Linked DNA regions of Homo sapiens: region 1 is linked to region 2. Evidence: promoter capture Hi-C in human tissues and cell types (Jung and others, 2019). All regions are on one chromosome and are shown on one strand. The core of a region is centred on a gene start or on the middle of the fragment in contact, and the rest is flanking DNA. Distances in the headings are between cores, read along the strand shown.

Region 1 (4,699 bases), core at 1,358-3,857, 160 kb before region 2:
GAGGCAAGATTGTGAGGGGGGAGACTCAGGAGGGGGTTGAGGCCAGAGGAGGTGGACGGGGACCAGAGGCGGAGGGGGAGGACCGAGAGGGGCAGAGAGAGAGTTAAGGGGGCTGGGGTCGGTGGGTGGAGAGAAAGGAGGCTGCGGTCGGGGGAGAGTCGAGGTAGAGGTGGGAGAGGGGGTGGAAGGAGACCGGAGGAGGCGAGCGGGGAGGGGAGCAGAGAACTGCTGCAGTGGCCAAAGGACAGCCCCCCCCAGGGGTGGGAAGGGCGACAGGCCAGTGGGGGGGGCGCGGGGAGACCCAAGAAGCCCCTGCGCCCCCCCCAGCACGATCTCGACAGGAAGCCCTGGAGAACTGGGGAGGCAGAGACCCCGGCTGGCCGGAGGCATGTGGAGGGGGGGGCCTGGGCGCAGGGAGAGGCCCAGCGGAAGCCAAGCCACCAGGGTGAGTGTCCCCCACCGTGGGGTTGTGGGGAGAAAAGGATGGGAGATGGCGGAGGGCGGCGGGGGGAAGGGGAGGGAGGCCGAGTCGCTGCAGAAGCCGTGATGGGGGTGGGGGGATGCGGGCTGGCAGCGGGAGAGCTGGGGACAGATGCGGAGGTAGACATGGCAGCGGCAGGCCTGGAGGCCGGGGTGGGTGCCGTGGGCTCCCACAGGCCCTGCGGGGTCCCCCGGCCTCAAATCCAGGCCCTGCGCTTTGGGCCAGCCCTTTGGCTAAGAGGGTGTGGGCTGGATCATCGCCAGGGTCTTAAGAGGTAGGAGCCCCTGACCCAGGATAAGGACTGGGCATTGACCTCCCTGTTCACATTCAGGAAAATGAAGACCCTCACCGCACTCACATAGTCAGACACAGACACACGGCCCCAGCCCTGCAGGAGAAAAATGAGCCCGGGTGGACACAGAATCAACCTCTCTCTCTTTCTCTCCCCAGCTCCCTCTTTCCCCTGCCCTCTGTCTCTCTGCCTCTGCTTCTGTCTCTGTCTCTCTGTGTCTCTGTCTAGCCCTCGCTCTCACACATGCACTCAGATACACAGACGTATGCACACACATTTTTATCTGGGTTAAAATGGTCTTGGAAACTGCAGGAGGAGGGAGTGACTGTGTGTGTGCATAGCCGTGTGCCTGGGGGTGAGCCTGTGTCGGGGGTCCTGAGAGTCCACCGTGAGAGGGGGGTCCTGAGAGTCCACCGTGAGAGGGTGTGCCCCATCACTGCTGAGTGTGTGAGTGGGTCGGTGTGCGTGTTTGTGTGACCTGCCCTCCTCCTGGTCTCTTGGGAATGGTTTGGGGTTGGCCTGTGTTGGGGCAGGGCCTGCTGGTGTGGGTGTATTTGTGTGTACTCAGAGATGCTGCGTGCAAAGGAGAGCTGGGAGCCAGAGGGTAGACCCAGGGCCGAAGTACCCCCTCTGCGCCCTCCCGGCCTGCTCTGTGCCCTTGGACAGGCCGTTTTCCCTCATAGTGCCTCAGTGTCCCCATCTGTAAATTGGGCATCCTAATAGCTTTCTCCTATGGTCATTATGAGGCTCACATGAGATGACCGGGATACAGTTTGCTGCATTGCAAGGGCTCACCCAGTGTTCCGGAGAGACTATTGTTACTGGTATCGTTGCTGTGACTCACCCATCCCCTTTCCCTCTCTGGTTCCATGGAAATGGCGGGGCAGGACAGATTGGGGAGGTACAGCGTGACTTCTCAGAGGGCCCGAGTCCCCGCTGTCTGCTTTCCTCCCAGAACCCAGGCAGAGTCCCTGGACCCCCTTCCCTTCCCCATCCCCTCCCCGAGAACCAAGCTCGGTCCTGCGGCAGCAGCTGGCATGAGTCCCATCGGGGCTGTCTCTGCCTGGAGCACCCACAGTCTCGGGGCAAAGGAGGGGGTGCAGCTGGTGGCCTCTCGGCCTGTGCCGCCCCCCGTCAGGTCCCCAGCCACCCTCACACACAAGCTCCAGTCTCCTCCCTCTTCACCCTGCTGCCTCCCAGCCCTCCCTTCACCTGCCCACACCTGTCACCTCCACGGTTGCCTTGTCTGCCACCTTACCTCTCTCTCCCTCAGATTCTCCCATGAGTCTGACTCAAGTCTCTGAAGCTGCTGTGAGGCCCCCACAGGGCCTGGACAGGGTGGGCAGTGACAGGAGGGTGTGCAGCGGAGGGTCTTTCGGTTTAGCTGAGGGCACAGGGGGTGGGGGAAATGCATCTCTTCGCTAACATCCCTGGGATGGGGAGAGGGGGAGGGAGTGGAGGGGAGAGGAGGCTGGGACCCACCTCCCAGGTGATCACGCAGGTGGCAAGGGGACCGGGCGGGTGTTGGGATGGGAGCGAGGTCCTCGCCACCTCGCTTGCTCTTCCCCGTTTCTGCCCCCTCGCCTTGTCTGTCTGTCTGTCTGTCTCACTCCTCTGATGTATCTACCTTTTTGAAGTCATGCAAAGAACTGGGTTTTGAATCTGGACAACTTCTGCACTTACTGGATGAGTGACCTTGGGCAGGCACTTCCTCTCCCCCAGCCTCAGTTTTCCCTGCTGCAGAATGGGCGTAGAATCTTGCCAGCATGGAGAGGATGAGCTAGTGCAGGGCCAGGCGGGCCAAGCTTCCCTCTGCCTGCCCCAGCCTGCTGGGTGGGTCCATCGGCAGCTGTCTCCCTCCCTGTCCCTTTGTTCTGGGCATGGGGCAGGGAGGCGGCGATGGGGCTGCCTGGGTGTTGGCAAGCACCCAGGCCACATGGGCTCCTGTCCCTCACCAAGCCTCTCCCCCTTCTCTCCCCCACCCACAGCCCCCCAGCGTCCACGCGGAGCATGAACATTGAGGATGGCGCGTGCCCGCGGCTCCCCGTGCCCCCCGCTGCCGCCCGGTAGGATGTCCTGGCCCCACGGGGCATTGCTCTTCCTCTGGCTCTTCTCCCCACCCCTGGGGGCCGGTGGAGGTGGAGTGGCCGTGACGTCTGCCGCCGGAGGGGGCTCCCCGCCGGCCACCTCCTGCCCCGTGGCCTGCTCCTGCAGCAACCAGGCCAGCCGGGTGATCTGCACACGGAGAGACCTGGCCGAGGTCCCAGCCAGCATCCCGGTCAACACGCGGTACCTGAACCTGCAAGAGAACGGCATCCAGGTATGCGGGGCCAGCGGGCAGAGGGGGACCTTGGAGGGGACACTGGGGAGGCATGCAGATGTAGCCCATCCCTTCTGGGCCTCCCCACACCGGGGCTTCCCCGTCTCCGGCACCTGTGGATGTGGCCTGCGGGTCTGCATCCTATCAGCTGGAGCCGGGCTCCCGAGGTGGAGTGGAGGCCCTCCGGGCTTTGAGAGCACAGTGCTCCCTGTCTCTGAGCCACCGTGTCGGGGCCCAAGTGCAGGCCACCTGCCCAGCCCCCCCGGCACAGGACAGGCGGGTCGGCCTAGGCCGAGCCCTGGAGTCCCTGGGGTGTGGAGAGCAACCCTTTCACAGGGACCCCTGTGGCATCTGCACCACCACACCCTCTCGTGGCCTTGGGAAGGTGACGGCATGATTCTGAGCCTCAGTTTCTTCATCTGAAAAGCGGGGACAATGCAAGCCCCTGCGTTGAGGTGTTGCTGTGAGGGCTGATGGGTCTGGTACTTATTGGGGCGTTAGCTTGTGTGCTGGCACCTGGCGAGTGGTCAGAGGACAGGAGGCGTTTCCATGGTCATTTGCCGGGCAGTGCAGGGTTTGCGTCCCCATTTCCTGGAGCTGGTGTGAGAATTGGAGAGCAGAGAGGCTGAGAACGCTGTGGTGCTTGGCGCCATGGTGGCCTGTGGCTGGTGCTCAGGATGGGGCAGCTGCCACTCAATTAATGATGACTCTGATTAGGATAGGCCGTAAGCGAGGGCTTGGGGGGACAGAGCTGTGCTATTAGAAAGCAGGGCTTCTCAACCTCTGCCCTATTGACATTTGGGGCCTGCCCTATCATCCTTTGGCGGGCAGGGTGGGGGGCTCTGTCCTGTGTGCTGTAGGATGTTTACCAGCATTTCCGGCCACTAGATGCCAGTAGCACCCCACCCCCAGTTCCAAAAATATCTCCAGGCATTGCCAGTGATTCCCAGGGGATCATTACCCCAGGCTGATTTGGTCCAACTCCTGCCTCCAAGCAAGCCTCCTCCTGTTCCAGCCTGTAAAGCTGGGAGAGAAGAGGGTGCCGATGCCAGAGGTCCCAGCCCCTCCAGATCTAATCTTCCAGATGTAACAGCTCCCGTAAGAAATGCGGCTGCTTTTCTGCCTGGTCTGTCCCTGGGAAAGGGTGGGAGGACTTGGCTGCTCCCATCTGACCATCCTGAGAGCCAGATTCAGGGAAGAAAAGGGACCTCTCAGGGGAGCAGTCCCTTCCTGGTGGCTGTGGGGCAAGGGCCAGCGAAGGGGTCCAGAAACGTCAGGGGCGTCGTCACATCACCACCCCCCGCTCCCGCAGGGCCTTGTCCCTCTGTCCACGCCCACCTCCCACAGGCTCCCATGTCTGCCAGTTTGCTTTGAGTCTGCCCTGCATCTCCCTAGTTGCAGTCTCCACCGATCCATCCACATCTCCCTTGAGCAGGTGACATTCCGCACTGTGCGGTCCCCATGCACCTGCCCCCGGCTTCCCTGCACTCCATCCTTCCCCCACTTATACACGTGACGTTCAACAGACACCGGCAGCACCGGCTCTGCACCAAGCCCTGTCCTGGGTGGTGACCGAGCCAGGCAAAGCCCAGCCCTAGCCCCGGCA
Region 2 (4,677 bases), core at 717-3,216:
TACAAAAATTAGCTGGGCGTGGTGGCACACACCTGTAATCCCAGCTACTCGGAAGCCTGAGGCATGAGAATCGCTTGAACCCGGGAGGTGGAGGTTAGTGAGCCGAGATCGCGCCACTGCACTCCAGCCTGGGCGACAGAGCAAGACCCTGTCTCAAAAACCAAAAAAAAAAAGACATGTGAGTTGAAACTCCCTGTGAATATCAACCACTCTGGTGAGTCTTCCCTGAGCGCACAGGTTCTTCTCTTGGCTCCCAAAGACTATCACTGCTCCGCCATAGCTCAGCGCACTCTGGACTGAAATCTCCTGTCCTTCCCCAACCAAACTGAATGATCATTGGCTCCCCAGTGCTCAGCAGAGGGCCTGTCCAAACAGCAGCTGTCAGAAACACATAAGAGAGGGAAGAGCATTTCAGGGGGAGGGAAGGAACCTCTCTAGGGGGAAGAGAGACCTGTGGGGGGGAAGTGCAGGAAGGAGGAGAAGCGGCCGTGCGTGGTGGCTCACGCCTGTAATCCCAGCACTTTGGGAGGCCGAGGCAAGTGGATCACCTGAGGTCAGGAGTTCGAGACCAGCCTGGCCAACACGGCGAAACCCCATCTCTACTAAAAATACAAAAAATGAGCTGGGCATGGCAGTGGGTGCCGTAATCCCAGCTACTCAGGAGGCTGAGGCACGAGACTCGCCTGAACTCGGGAGGCGGAGGTTGCAATGAGCTGAGTTTGCACCACTGCATTCCAGCCTGGGTGACAGAGCAAGACTCTGTCTCAAAAAAAAAAAAAAAAAAAAGAGAAGACAGTGGCAACAAGTTCCTTCAGTGGAAGGGCTGAGGCGAGGCACTGACATCGCCCTGCCCACTCCTGGCTCCGCTCTAAACCCTGCCCACTCACTCCCCCACTAATCTTTGCCTTCAGAGCGGCAACCCCAACCTGCTTCTCCCTTAGCCTTCCCCATCCAGCCTGCTGCTCAAACCACAAACCCAGGAGTCATCCTGGACTCTTCCCCTTGCTCCTACGCCCAGTCCATCAGCCAGTCCCCCTGTCTCCGCCCGCAAAGGTAACCGGAGCCTGATTCTCTGCCTGCAGGACGCTCTCCCTCCTAACAGATCTCCCTCCTTCCATTCTTATTCCTGCTACAATCCAATTTCCACTCAGTGGTGAGTTTTTCAAAACATGGGGCGAATCGTGTTGTTTCCACGCTCAAACCCTCCCACGGCTCCCCGCTGAACCTAGAATAAAGGAGAAATTCCATACCAAGTTTTACAAGGCCCTATAGGATCTAGTTCCCCATCATGACTCCGACCTCATCTGTGTTTCTCTCGTCCCCTCGGCTCCTGCTACAAATACGCCAAGCTCCTTCCACCTCAGGGCTTTGCACTTGAGGGTCCCAGAGCGGTCGATTCTGGACCACTCCAGCTAAAGCAACAGGCTCTTCGCTCATTATCACGTTACCCTGCGTTAGTTTCCTTCTGAGAGCATCTCACAGCCCCAGAGCACTGCTTTACTGATCTATTAAAACTCATCACTTGTCTACCGTCTGTCTTCCCGAGACAGGGACTTCTCTGACTTGTTCCTGCTTCCAGAAAAGTGCCTGGCACAGAGTACTCAAACACCCAGCGAATCCAGGATGACACCAAGCCCGCACGTGCACCACCCAGTCCCCCCAGCTCCTCCCGGGCCACGTCCCGCCCCACGGTGCCCGGCGCATGCGCCCCCTGCCCGCCGAGGAATTCCACCCCCACCCCGGCCTTTTCCTGCTCGTCCCCGCGCCCTCGCCCAGGAAACCCCTGGCCCCTGCCCTCTCCTGCGCGCCCCCGGGCCAAAGGGTGCCCTCGCAACCGTCTCTCAGATCTATGTGCCTGGCTGCTCAAGCCCCGTTCCCTACCAGGCCCACTGCCCCGAACTCCCTTTTTCCCCTCTACTCACCCGCTTCAAACAGCGTTTCCCGCCACAGCCTACGCCGCCGTGACCCCTGACTCCCGCGCGCGCAAGCCCAGAGCCGCGGCGCTCAGAGACGGGCCACGCCCCCGCCTGCCCAAGTGCGGGCAAGGCCACGCCCCGCTTGTTCGACTGCAGGGCAGGCCCCGCCCCCTCTCTCAGCTTCCGAAGTGGCCTCGCCCCCTTGCTGAAAAATTCCCTTAACTCCGCCTCCCCATGACCTGTCTGCCCGAAGCCACGCCCCTCCGCGCGGCTACCTTCACGACCTCGTGCGGTCTGGGCGCGCCGCGGTTCTGTTCTCTCTCCTCCCACCCTCGGGTGTTGCGCGCGCATCCTCCGCGTCCCCCCGCCCGCCTCTCGCCCGGGGCCGTGTAGGGAGCGCTGCCCCGTCGCTGCCCAGCAGCCAGCTGGTGACCTGACGCCCAAGATCCCCGCAGAGGCTGGCCGATAAGCGGTAGAGTCCTGGCTTGATCTGTTCTCCTTCATCCTAGCTTCAGTTTCCCTATACGTAAATTAGACTCAACAACGCATGATAGGGACACTTGTGGGGCGCCCGGTACACTACTCTTAGGATAAGGTGATCATTGGTAACTACTCTCACTTCCGCTGTTCCCCGCCCCAAATAAATACACCTTTAAGTTGCATCCCTCCATCCAACCCCCCTTTCGCCCTCGATTGGAATTGCTCATTCAGCTCCTTCAGGGCTGGCACAGGGGCAGGAAGGATTGGAGGAACTTCGTCGCTTCGCTCCGAACTCCTGGCGTCTCTCCTTTCAAACTTTGCACGTGCTGTTCCCTCAACTTGGAGGCCCAGCCCCCAGGCTCTTGTTTTAGGTCCCAGCGATTGCCTCTGTTGTGATACCTTCCCTGATTTCCTCTAGCCCCACCACAGTGCCACGCTCATTAAAGTCCCTATCCCCCGAGTCTTGGTAGGAGGATGGTTATCTTGTTCACAGATGTTTCCAGTGCCTAGAATTGTGCCTAACTGTAGTTAATGCTCTGGAAACATTTATTGGGTGAATGTCTCCATCTCTAGAATGGCCAACCCAGTGCCTGGCCCACAGGAGGCCTCAGCAAACACTTGTTGTTCGGACAGAAGTCCAGGTCCCCTCATTCACTTAAATCCTGTTTATCCTTCAAGGGTGAGTTCTGATTCACCTTGTCCAGGGAGGTGACCCTGAGGCTGAGGCCTCTGTCCTGAACTTTCACAGCAGGCGACACACCACCCAACACTGGGACCCTATGTGCCACCCTTTTCCCAACAGCCTGGGGACACCCAGTCCCACCTGCTCAATCAGGTTCGGGCACCCAGTGTCACTGAGGTCCCTAGAAGCCCGCGCCCTCTCCATCTTGCACTCCAGCTCCGGGCTGGATTGTATTCATATTTTATTTTCCTGTTTCTGTTTTTAGTTTTTATTAAATAAAAGCAGAGGAAGAGGAAGGCCCTGGTCTCCCGGGCTAGGGGGGAGAGCCATGGGTCCTCCCCTCCCTCTGTTCAAGGTGCACTGCGTGCTGGGCTTGAGGTGTAAGCTGGGGAGGGAGGGCAGCCGGGAAGGGTCAGTGGTCGGGACCTGCAACCCTTTCACCCCTTCTGGAAGACTCGCTGGGCAGGGAGGGAGCCTCCTGGACCTGGACTGGGGCTTATCCCAAGGGATGAGAGCCGATAGGTCTACAGGCTCGGCCCAGGGCCCCTTCCACCCTAGGAAGAGGAAGGGGTGCCGGCGTCTATCTGCTGGAGGGTGGTCAGGCAAGGCTGTGGGGCTGGGTGGCCAGCCCCTCACTCGTGGACGTCCCAGATCTCCGACAGCAGAGGCGGCAGCTTCTTGTCCTGGAGCCGCAAGGCGAAGACCTGCTCCGAGTGCACAGAGCTCAGCGTGCGCAGGCTCACCAGCTTCATGAGCATGCGCGGGAAGCGCAGCTGGTCCTGAGGGAGGAGGCAGGTGGGCGCTGGCTGAGCCCCTGCCCTGCCAGGCTTTGGGAGGCCCACCCCAACAGAAAGGAGGGCCCCTCCCCGACCAGGCGTGGGAGCCAGCGTGGGGCCCGCCTCTGTGCTTGGACTAGACCTGGCTCCCAGTCGAGCAGGGTGGGGCCTGAGGAAAGACTCTGCGGAGGGGAGGGCAGTGTGGCTGGCAGAACCCAGCCTGAACGGACCACGTGGGCCGCGGGACGTAGTTGGCTCTGCGCAGAGGCTCTGCGGGGCCCTACCTGCGGCCTCTTGATGCGCGTGTAGGACAGCAGCGCCTCCACGTAGGGCTGCTGCAACGCCTCCACGCGGCCCGGCTCCTGCACGTTGGGCCGGTCGGCCGAGAAGATGTTGATGGCGATGAGCAGGGCGTACTCAGCGTCGTCCAGGCCCAGCCGCCGCATGGCCCGCGAGAACTCGAAGATGGGGTTGATGAACTCCACCTGCAGGCCTGCGGGGCGGGAGGCAGCCCGTGACTCCCTCAGCCCGAAACCGTGCCCCACATCCTGGACCCTGGCGCTGCCCACAGTCTCTGGGGCTGGGAACACAGCAGTAATTACAGCGTTCTTGTCATTTCTGTCCACCTGTGCCCCGTGCCCATGAGTGCTGGCATGTAGTAGGTGTGCCACACATGCTGCCCAGTGAAGGAATGAATGAGGGTGCATGTTTCTTCAGTATTTTCTACTATCCTATCACCACCCTCCCTTCCCACCTGGGCGGTGGCTGCAGCTTCCCGAGTCCCTATTCTTGTCCCCTTCACAAAGGCAAAGGGAAGCTTTTA

The links. The method cuts DNA at HindIII sites, captures the fragments that hold promoters and counts their contacts. A contact is called where the count stands out against the background at its distance.
Region 1: a fragment that was not itself captured here is called in contact with the fragment with the promoter of POLD1 in region 2 in 1 of the 25 tissues and cell types used here (dorsolateral prefrontal cortex).

Annotation. Positions count from the first base shown.
Region 1 is chr19:50,546,936-50,551,634 of GRCh38, reverse strand. LRRC4B (leucine rich repeat containing 4B) reads left to right here. Exons shown (of 3, transcript NM_001080457.2): 2 at 2,762-3,093. The coding sequence starts at 2,797. Among named protein-coding and RNA genes, the nearest start is that of LRRC4B, 19 kb to the left of the region's middle. The HindIII fragment of the contact is 9,422 bases long and covers 1-4,699 here.
Region 2 is chr19:50,381,636-50,386,312 of GRCh38, reverse strand. POLD1 (DNA polymerase delta 1, catalytic subunit) reads right to left here and starts at 1,966. Exons shown (of 27, transcript NM_002691.4): 1 at 1,923-1,966. It overlaps NR1H2 (nuclear receptor subfamily 1 group H member 2), which reads right to left. Exons shown (of 10, transcript NM_007121.7): 9 at 4,139-4,347; 10 at 2,925-3,857. The coding sequence ends at 3,711. RefSeq lists an enhancer at 732-1,233 and silencers at 1,953-2,042, 2,073-2,192, 2,203-2,302. The HindIII fragment of the contact is 20,023 bases long and covers 1-4,677 here.